Linked DNA regions of Homo sapiens: region 1 is linked to region 2. The links are contacts of gene promoters, found by promoter capture Hi-C in blood cells and fetal thymus (Javierre and others, 2016). All regions are on one chromosome and are shown on one strand. Each heading gives the region's core, a stretch centred on a gene start or on the middle of the fragment in contact. The rest is flanking DNA. Distances are from core to core; before and after follow the strand shown. Region 1 holds the start of LOC105378199 (a long non-coding RNA gene). Region 2 holds the start of PCDHGA7 (protocadherin gamma subfamily A, 7).

Region 1 (4,362 bases), core at 1,455-3,954, 110 kb after region 2:
GTTTTAAATTTTAAAATAATTTAAGACCCAAAACATTTTTAAAAATAGTATGAGTTTCCATTTGTCCTTCCCTCACAGCTTCCTCAAAAGTTAACATCTTATCCTCAATGTAAGAAATTATCATTGATACAATTAACTAACCTGTAGACTTTATTCAAATTTTGCCAATTGTTCCACTAATGTCCTTTTTCCGGTCTAGGAATCGGTCATTAACTTCTCCTTAACTTCTTCCAATCTAGGACAATTTTCCAGTCTTTCTTTAGCTTCTATGACCTTAACACTTTTTAAGAGTGCTGGCAAGCTATTGGTTAAATGTCTCTTAATTTGGGTTTGTCTGATATTTCCTTATGACTAAATTTTGGTAGTACATTTTTGGCAAGAATAATACAGAAATGATGTGCAGTCGTCATATCAGGAGATATGTCAGGTTAATGTTTCATACTGGAGATGTTAACTTTGGTTATTTGATAAAGAGTTTGTCTCCACTGTAAAGTTACTGTTTGCCGTCTGTAATTAATAAATATTATAACAATATCTTTGTAATTAACAAGTATCATATGAGGAACTGCTTGGAGAATGATCTATTTCTTAACAGGATAATAGTTATTTACTGAAAAGGTAGGACTATGTTCCAAATCCCAGAGGCCCACGCTGTAATTCTCTTGTTAGGGAATGTCTTGGGCTTCATATAACATTCTGCTATAGTAGACACTTTAAACATAATTTATTTTTTCAGACAGCGTCTTGCTCTGTCGCCCAGGTTGGAGTTCAGTGGTGTGATACCGGCTCACTGCAACCTCTGCCTCCTGGGTTCAAGCAATTCTCGTGCTTCAGCCTTCCGAGTTGCTGGGATTACAGGCCTGTGCCACCACACCTGTCTAATTTTTTTTATTTTTAGTAGAGATGGGGTTTCACTATGTTGGCCAGGCTATTCTCAAACTCCTGACCTCAAGTGATCCACCTGCCTCGGCCTCCGAAAGTGCTGGGATTACAGGCATGAGCCACTGCGCCCAGCGTTAAACATAATTTTATCTGCTGAGTCATAACTCCCAAGTGGTGTTCCTGTTCTTAATGCATTCTGGAGTACCTGTAGAGCCTTCTTTGATTTGGAGTTCAGTTTAAAGCTGGCAGCCTTAACAGTGACTCAGCAAAAAGATCAGAGAAGGATGCCAAAAGATAACATGTTGCCTCCAAAATCAAGAGGCTCACCAAGTTTGCCTTTTTCTTCATGGTAGGGAGTGTAGGAAGGGCAGCAGCAACTTGTTTTTCACTTTCTTGGAAATATCTTAACATGCCCTAGATTTCTGAATCCCCCAAAACTTCAGAGAGGACAGTTCCTTAAATTGTTGTGGGGCTTACTTATCTCCTCTTCTGCCATACATACGTCTTACGAAGGCATCTAGGGCACATGTTACTTGCTATTGAAGAGGTACAATCAGCATGATCCCATTAGCGTGCTGGAAAAATGTGATGTCCTATGGGATGGTGAGATAATTAGAACCTTGTATGACTCTCAGAGGAGCAGGAGCACCCCTAACATTTGTGATACCTAGGGCAAGAATAAAAATAGAGATTTATTTTCCCAGCTACTCGGGAGGCTGAGGCAGGAGAATGGCGTGAACCCGGGAGGCGGAGCTTGCAGTGAGCCGAGATAGCGCCATTGCAGTCCGGCCTGGGCGAAACGAAAGAGCCAGACTCCGTCTCAAAAAAAAAAAAGAAAAAAGAAAAAAAAATAGAGATTTATTTTCCTGAGTCTTTGTTTTTTTTTTTTGTTTTTGTTTTTTTTTCCTCTACACTATTGAAACTGTGCCCCAAAGAGTTAAAGAAACCAGTAACTAACAGAAATTCTTGAGTTTTCATAATGGCAGATAAGAAACAACTTGCTGAAACACTGAGACTCCCTCTGCTTAAAAGAAATGAACTGGCTGAAATCGGTTGTAACCTAGATAGATAAATGGAGTTTGCACAGAATGAGCTTGCTGAGATCGCAGCCTGAGTTTCCACCACAGGTTTCATACTAACTCCCCCGAATTCGCACAAAGACCCTTGCGGAGGCATGAAGAGGTAAGTGCACATGCCCAAGGACTTCCCATGCCTCCCCTTTCCTTCCGCTAATCACCGCTCTCAGAATCTGCCCCCTAAATCTTTTCTTTTTCTTTTCTTCCTTTGTTTCTTTTTTTTTTTTTTTTTTTGAGACGGAGTCTTACTCAATCGCCCAGGCTGGAGTGCCGTGGTGTGATCTCCGCCCATTGCAACCTCCACCTCCCGGGTTCAAGTGATTCTCCTGCCTCAGCCTCCTGAGTAGCTGGGATTACAGGCGCACGCCACCACGCCTGGCTAATTTTTGTATTTTTAGTAGAGGCAGGGTTTCACCATGTTGGCCAGGCTGGTCTCAAACTCCTAACCTTAGGTAATCCACCCGCCTCGGCCTCCCAAAGTGTTGGGATTACAGGCGTGAGCCACCACGCCCAGCCCCGTAAAGCATTTCTAACAAAATTACTGCCTGAAAGCCAGCATGGGAAGACACTTGACGTTTACTCCTGTCTCCTTGGGAATCCATTTTCTTTCCTTTGTGTGTTTGTTGCTATAACAAAGACTTTCAATATAAAGCTTTTCTTTTCTCAAAAATGCAGTGTCATATTATTGGCTTCTAGCATATCAGGTAGTGAGTCCCTTTTGCTGGATAACATTATCCTAAGGCATTATTAGCATCTTAATTTCCTTTGTTAAATTGTGGCTGTCATTGAATTGAGTCAGCTGACCAAAAGAACTATTAGAGATAATCATGTGAAAGCTTGAACACTGAATTCAGAATCTCTGGCAAACGAACCCACCTAAATTCAACTCAATCTAAAGGTTTTTTCTTTGTTTTCTGTTATAGCATACTCAGTTCTCAAACATATTCCTAAGGTTTCTGTGATGTAGTTAGCAAAATTATGCAATTCTTTCAGTATATATGCCTTCTAATATTGGGACTGGCTTTGTGCTTGTCCCCATTGAACATGCTAGGATATGAATCTAATTAGAGGTCTAGAGGCAATGAGAGTTGGCAAATGAAGGGCATGGAGAAAATTAGCAACCCTTTGCAATGTAACTGTCTCAGCTGAGGTCATTACAGACTATGCATGCAAAGAGGACAGTCTTATTAAAAAGGAAAATGAGTTTGCTTCTGCTGGGATAAAAAAGGGCTCAATTGGTTTGGGGATTCAAGATACAATCACATCTGAATTCACCTAGCTGTCCCCATTCCCATTCTAAGGATACTACTCTTTCTGGATCAATGCTCTAGCAATTTCATTAAAAAACATGCAGTGGTTGTGAATTCAACTTTGTAATTATTTATCAACCTGAAGAATCAGACTTTTTGTCTGATTTTTATCTATGTAGTCCTGTAGCCGTGGGATAAAAGAGATGTTTTTAAAGCAATCATTAAAATATTTGATTTTCATATCTTTCCTGACCCAAGAATTTTAAAACCCTAAGTTCGTTATTTTCTTTAATTGAATTCTCGATTGCAGTCAAAAGTAATCACCACATCCCCTGAACCTTTCTCTTCCCCACCATAATGCTTTGGTACACCAGCCACTTTGCTTACCAGAGAATTACCTTCAATAAGCAATTAATTCCAGACAAACACAAGTGATAACCTGAGTAAATGTTTTGCTGTTGCTTACCAGGGACTACCAATATCTTATTTTCTAGAGGATATGGGACTATCATTGCCTTTGATCTATCTAGGTCATATAATCTATCCTAAATTTCATTCTTCGGTGTTTGTTGCCTGCAAATTCTGGTACAAAATATATTTTTGGGGCTCAGGGCACATAACAAAAACAACTCTAATCAGTTTAAGCAGAAAAATATTTAACAGAGATAATTAGATTTTTATAGCATCATTGGAATGTGTGGATAAGTGGAACTCAGGAACTATTGAGTTCCAAGAACAACTTGCTACACCTGTGACCCAGGGTTAGTAGGCCACTTCTACTGTTGCTACCACCTCTCAATACCCACACAGTTGCTCCTAGATACAGGAACACTCAATCTGGCTGTTGCTCCTGGTGACACTGGAATGCTGAACCTTCCTTCCACAGCTACTTCTCAACCCTTTGCTTGTACAACCAAATGCAGCAGTATAGCAGATGCTATTGATGCCTGTCCTATATTCCCTTGGCCCACCTCAGAGTTTACCTGCAGTTCAATGAAAACTTTTTAGCAAGCTTACAGCAGCTTCTCTTGTGATATGGTTTGGCTGTGTCCCCACTCAAATCTCATCTTGAATTGTACTCCCATAATTCCCACGTGTTGTGGGAGGGACCTGGTGGGAGATAATTGAATCATGAGGGCAGTTTCCCTCCTACT
Region 2 (4,718 bases), core at 2,120-4,619:
ATAGCCCACAGACACACTTCATCTGGCTGTACCACTAAAACAACATACTGGAATTCTCTGTTAAAACATGTAATTGCCTATGTCACAAATGCCAATTACAACACTTAAAATGACATTTTATTTGACATATTTTATTGGTTTTGTCCGATGGCCTTTAGTGTGGCATTAGACTTGATGTCTGTCTTTGATATAGATCTTAGTGAAGTGTGATACACACACATTTCATTCTTTAGGCATAAATCCAACCTTCTACTACCACCCCATTAATAAATGATTATACTGTAAATAGGTCAAGAAGCAATCAAGATTTTTTAGGACCACCAAGCTGAGGTACATGGAGGCAGAATCAGCCACAGAAAAAAATCTTCACATGGAAGAAATCTTTCAGAACCTTTTACATATTTGAATGCTAAAGAGAATCCTGAGAAGACAGCTGAGGTGTGTTTTATTCCTGCTAACCTTGTGCAATATGAAAGACTCGATTCATTCCAATGTATAAAATATATGAGTTAAGAAAGTAGGTTGGAACATAGATTGGAAAGTAGGTGGAAATTATAAAATGTGATAGTCCACATATTCATAATCTTGTCCATAGGCTTTCACTAAAGAAATACTATATCCTATGTGTTCTATATTAAAGTGTCACCACTGAAGGAAACTGGTAAACTCATTTTTACCTCTATAAAGTTTTTTAAATCCCTATTTTCAAAACATTTGTTTTGCAAAATAATAGAGAAATATCATGCAAATAAATTCCTCATGGAAATAAAGGAAGGGCTGGGCTCACCTGAATACTTGGCAGGTTTTCTTTACATTCCTGAAAATCTACGGATGTTAGCAAAGAATCATTTTTCTCACAGCTCTCCTGGCTGATGAGCATGTCTACATAGTTGGGCTGGGGGAAGATCAGGTGACTCTTCCGAGAGTCCGCGGTGAGGGAGACCTCATGGGAATAGGTCTGCAGGAAAGCCTGCACCCCGTCCATGCCCACAAAGTGCGAGGTGGGCACGTTCGCCAAGCCACCTTCTGAAGCCTGCAGCAGGCGTGACTTGTGCCAGCGCCGCAGCCTGAGCGCCAGCAGTACGAGGACGAAGGCTAGGAAGACGCAGGAGACTGTGGCCACCGCCACCACCAGGTACAACGTGAGGTCATAGTTGTAAGGACCGTCGGAGGGCTCAAGGCTGCCCAGGTCGGCCAAGACTTCGGGGATGCTGTCAGCCACAGCCACGGTGAGTGTGACGGTGGCTGACAGAGGAGGCTGACCGTGGTCCTGGACGGCCACCACGAGGCTCTGCTTGAGGGCATCTCTGTCCAGCAGGGCCCGAGCCGTGCGCACCTCGCCCGTGTACAGCCCAACCGCAAAGAGTCCTGGCTCGCTGGCCTTAAGCAGGAGGTATGACAGCCAGGCGTTCTGGCCTGAATCTTTGTCCACCGCCACCACCTTGGTCACCAGGTAGCCGGGCTCTGCGGAGCGGGGTGCCAGCTCCATGCCAGTAGAACCATCTGTGGGGAGGGCCGGGTACAGGATCTCGGGCGGGTTGTCATTCTGGTCCAGCACGAACAGGCTCAGTGACATGTTGCTGCTGAGAGGCGGGTCCCCGCTGTCATGTGCAGTCACTCTTAGTTGTAGTTCTCTCAACTGCTCATAATCAAAGGATTGCAGCGCGTACAGGACTCCAGTGTCAGAGTTTATGGAGACATAGGAGGACACTGGAGCCCCCTGGATGGTGTCTTCGGCCAAGGAATAAGTGATCTGGGCATTATCCTCACTGTCGTGGTCCTGTGCAGTCACTAAGAAAATGGAGGCCCCTCTGGGGTTGTTCTCAGCGATGTAGACTGAGTAGGATGAGTGGGGGAAGGTGGGTGGGTTATCGTTGGTGTCTGCCACCTGCATGAATATGTGAGTTTCCCTGGACAAGGGAGGAGTTCCACCATCTGTGGCTTTCAGTGTGATGTTATACAAAGAGAGTGTTTCCCGGTCCAAGTTTTTGGTTGTGACCAATCTATAATAATTATCTATTGATTTTTCTAATTTAAAAGGTAGGTTTTCTGGAATGGTGCAGGTCACCTCACCATTCTTTCCAGAATCTCTGTCTTGTAGGTAGAAAAGAGCAATGACTGTCCCAAGAGGTGTGTCTTCAGGGATTGAGCTACTTAAAGACGTCATAGTCACTTCTGGAGCATTATCATTTACATCTAAAACTGTGATCAGTACTTTTGCCTTTGTCAGACTACCAGGACCATCTTGAGCCTGAACCTCCATTTCATAGAAGGCAGTTTCTTCATAATCTAATCCTTCTAAAGTTGATATTTCTCCTGTAAGCGAGTTCAGATGAAACATCTTTGGAAGTTTAGGAGTTATTTTCCGAAAAGAATATGTCACTTCCCCATTGACTCCCTCGTCCAGGTCGATAGCATGTACCGTGAGCAGTCTTGTACCCACTGGCACATTCTCGGGGACAGTTACTTGGTACTGAGGCAGAGAGAAGACAGGCGTGTGGTCATTCACATCCACCACTGTCACCTGGATGTGGGCGGTGCTGGATCGGGGCGGGTCGCCGCCATCAGAGGCTGTGAGGACCAGGTGGTGAACCCGCTCTTCCTCCCGGTCCAGCACCCGCTCCAGCACCAGTTCCGGGTACTTAGTTTCATCGTCTCCACTTTGCACAGCCAGGGAGAAGTGGCGATTGGGGCTGAGCTGGTAACTCTGGAGGGAGTTCGTGCCCACATCTGGATCCCCAGCCTCGCTTAACGGAAACCGAACCCCAGGAGCTGTATTCTCCATTATTTTTACATTTATTTCTTCCGTCAAGAATCTTGGAACGTTGTCATTAATATCTATTATTTCCACGTCTATAGGGTAAAGATTCATTTTATCTTCCATCAGGATGTTAAAGTTTACCAGACACCGCGCACTCTGAGCGCAGATCTCTTCCCGGTCTATCCTGCCCGCAGTGACCAAGCTGCCGCTGCGCTGGTTCAGGGCGAAAAGCTGCGTCCTACCTCTGGAGATGATGCGGACTCCGCGCTCCGCCAGCTCCCGGGGCTCCAGCCCCAGGTCCTTGGCGATGTCTCCCACAAAGGACCCTTTGTCCGTCTCCTCCGACACGGAGTAGAGAATACGTCCTGCCCAGGCTTCCCAGGGGGTCCCCAGGAGGATGGAGAGCAGGAAGAATCCTCTGTAGTCCCCGCCCCTCGGCTGAGCCGCCATAGTCGTCCTGCTTCTCTTGCTTAGGCGCCGATCTCGGGAAGTGCTTCAGAATGCGGGTGTATCCGGGTGGACCCCTCTGTCTTAGGAAGGGGAGCTCAGAATCCAGCAGGATAGAGGCTTGAGTTTAGTGCAGCCTGGAAGAGGGCTTATCGCAATCTGTCGTTTCTCTGTGCTGTAAAACTCGGTGGTTTCTGTGGGATCTCTCGCACCATTTTTCCCTGGTTGGTGAACAGCGGCGCTGTGAGTCCTTACTAAGTTACTGCACCACATTGATGCACACAATACACTGATTTCATAGAAAATTGTTTCATCTTTCAAAATTTCCCTGTTAGATTTCTTTGCTCTAGATATCCCTGATAATTAAAAATCCATTTTAAGACACTGAATTAATGCAACAGTGTTCATGGACCGGTGTTTGATAATCTTAGATAATTTTTAAAAAACTGCTTTGCCTTGCAACTTTCAAGTGACTCTTTTGGGCACTGACTCACACGTTATTGCACATGGGAAAATCAGTTATTGAAGGCAAAAAGGTAAATTTTATTTAAATACATATGAAAGATTTTACTTAGAAAATATTTACATCAGTGTATATAAATTTTAATTAATTCAGTATTAATTGAACACATATGTTCTAGACACCATGATGCAAGATTCAGAAAGTCAAAATTGTTGTAAAATATATAGACCTATTTTAATAAATTTTTGATTGTATAGAACCTTAGAGACGGTCTAACACCTTCATTTTAACCGTTTAAAAAATGAGAGGGGGGGCCAGGTGCTGTTGCTCACGCCTGTAATCCCACACTTTGTGAGGCCGAGGCGGGCGGATCACCTGAGGTCGGGAGCTTGAGACCAGCCTGACCAACATGGAGAAACCCCGTCTCTACTAAAAATACAAAATTATCCGGGCGTGGTGGCGCGCGCCTGTAATCCCAGCTACTCAGGAGGCTGAGGCAGGAAAATCGCTTGAACCCGGGAGGTGGAGGTTGTGGTGAGCCGAGATCACACCATTGCACTCCAGCCTGGACAACAAGAGCAAAACTCTGCCAAAAAAAAAAAAAAAAAAAAAAGAAGAAGAAAGAAAGAAAGAAAGAAAGAGGGAATTGCCTTGCCTTGTTCCTGATTATTGATTATATAGTAGTAGAACAATGTCGGAATCCAAATATTCTCACTCCCAGTCTTGTGAGAAAAAAAGAAAGAAATCGTTGTTTGTCTTGGCTGCAGCAATCAGCTATAGAAGCAACCCATTTTCTACAGAAGGCAGAAATCTGCAGAGATCCTACTGGGCTGTGAATTCATAAGAAACTGGATAATGGATTGGCTGATTCTTTTCATTATGCAATTCAATTCAAGTCTTCATCCTAGTATGCAATTCAAATCTTCATCCTACTCTATTCTAGTGTAATTGAGAAAACAGGGATCTCTAGACAGCATTTGAGCAAAATGCAGGACTGTCCTGACAGGATCCTTAGAGGTACTCGTCTCTCCACTGATGTTGATAGAG

The links. Contacts are between HindIII fragments. The CHiCAGO score rates a contact against its expected background, and 5 or more counts as called.
Region 1: a contact is called between a fragment that was not itself captured here and the fragment with the promoter of PCDHGA7 in region 2, in 1 of 17 cell types (total CD8 T cells). The highest score is 5.2, in total CD8 T cells.

Annotation. Positions count from the first base shown.
Region 1 is chr5:141,266,171-141,270,532 of GRCh38, reverse strand. LOC105378199 (a long non-coding RNA gene) reads left to right here and starts at 1,775. Exons shown (of 2, transcript XR_001742473.1): 1 at 1,775-2,064. The HindIII fragment of the contact is 184 bases long and covers 2,613-2,796 here.
Region 2 is chr5:141,381,393-141,386,110 of GRCh38, reverse strand. It overlaps PCDHGA7 (protocadherin gamma subfamily A, 7), which reads right to left and starts at 3,369. Exons shown (of 4, transcript NM_018920.4): 1 at 788-3,369. The coding sequence starts at 3,211. The region is part of intron 1 of PCDHGA1 (protocadherin gamma subfamily A, 1); the gene reads right to left. All of the region lies in intron 1 of PCDHGA2 (protocadherin gamma subfamily A, 2), which reads right to left. The region is part of intron 1 of PCDHGA3 (protocadherin gamma subfamily A, 3); the gene reads right to left. It also overlaps PCDHGB1, PCDHGA4, PCDHGB2, PCDHGA5, PCDHGB3 and PCDHGA6, and 1 more gene. The HindIII fragment of the contact is 6,225 bases long and covers 1-4,718 here.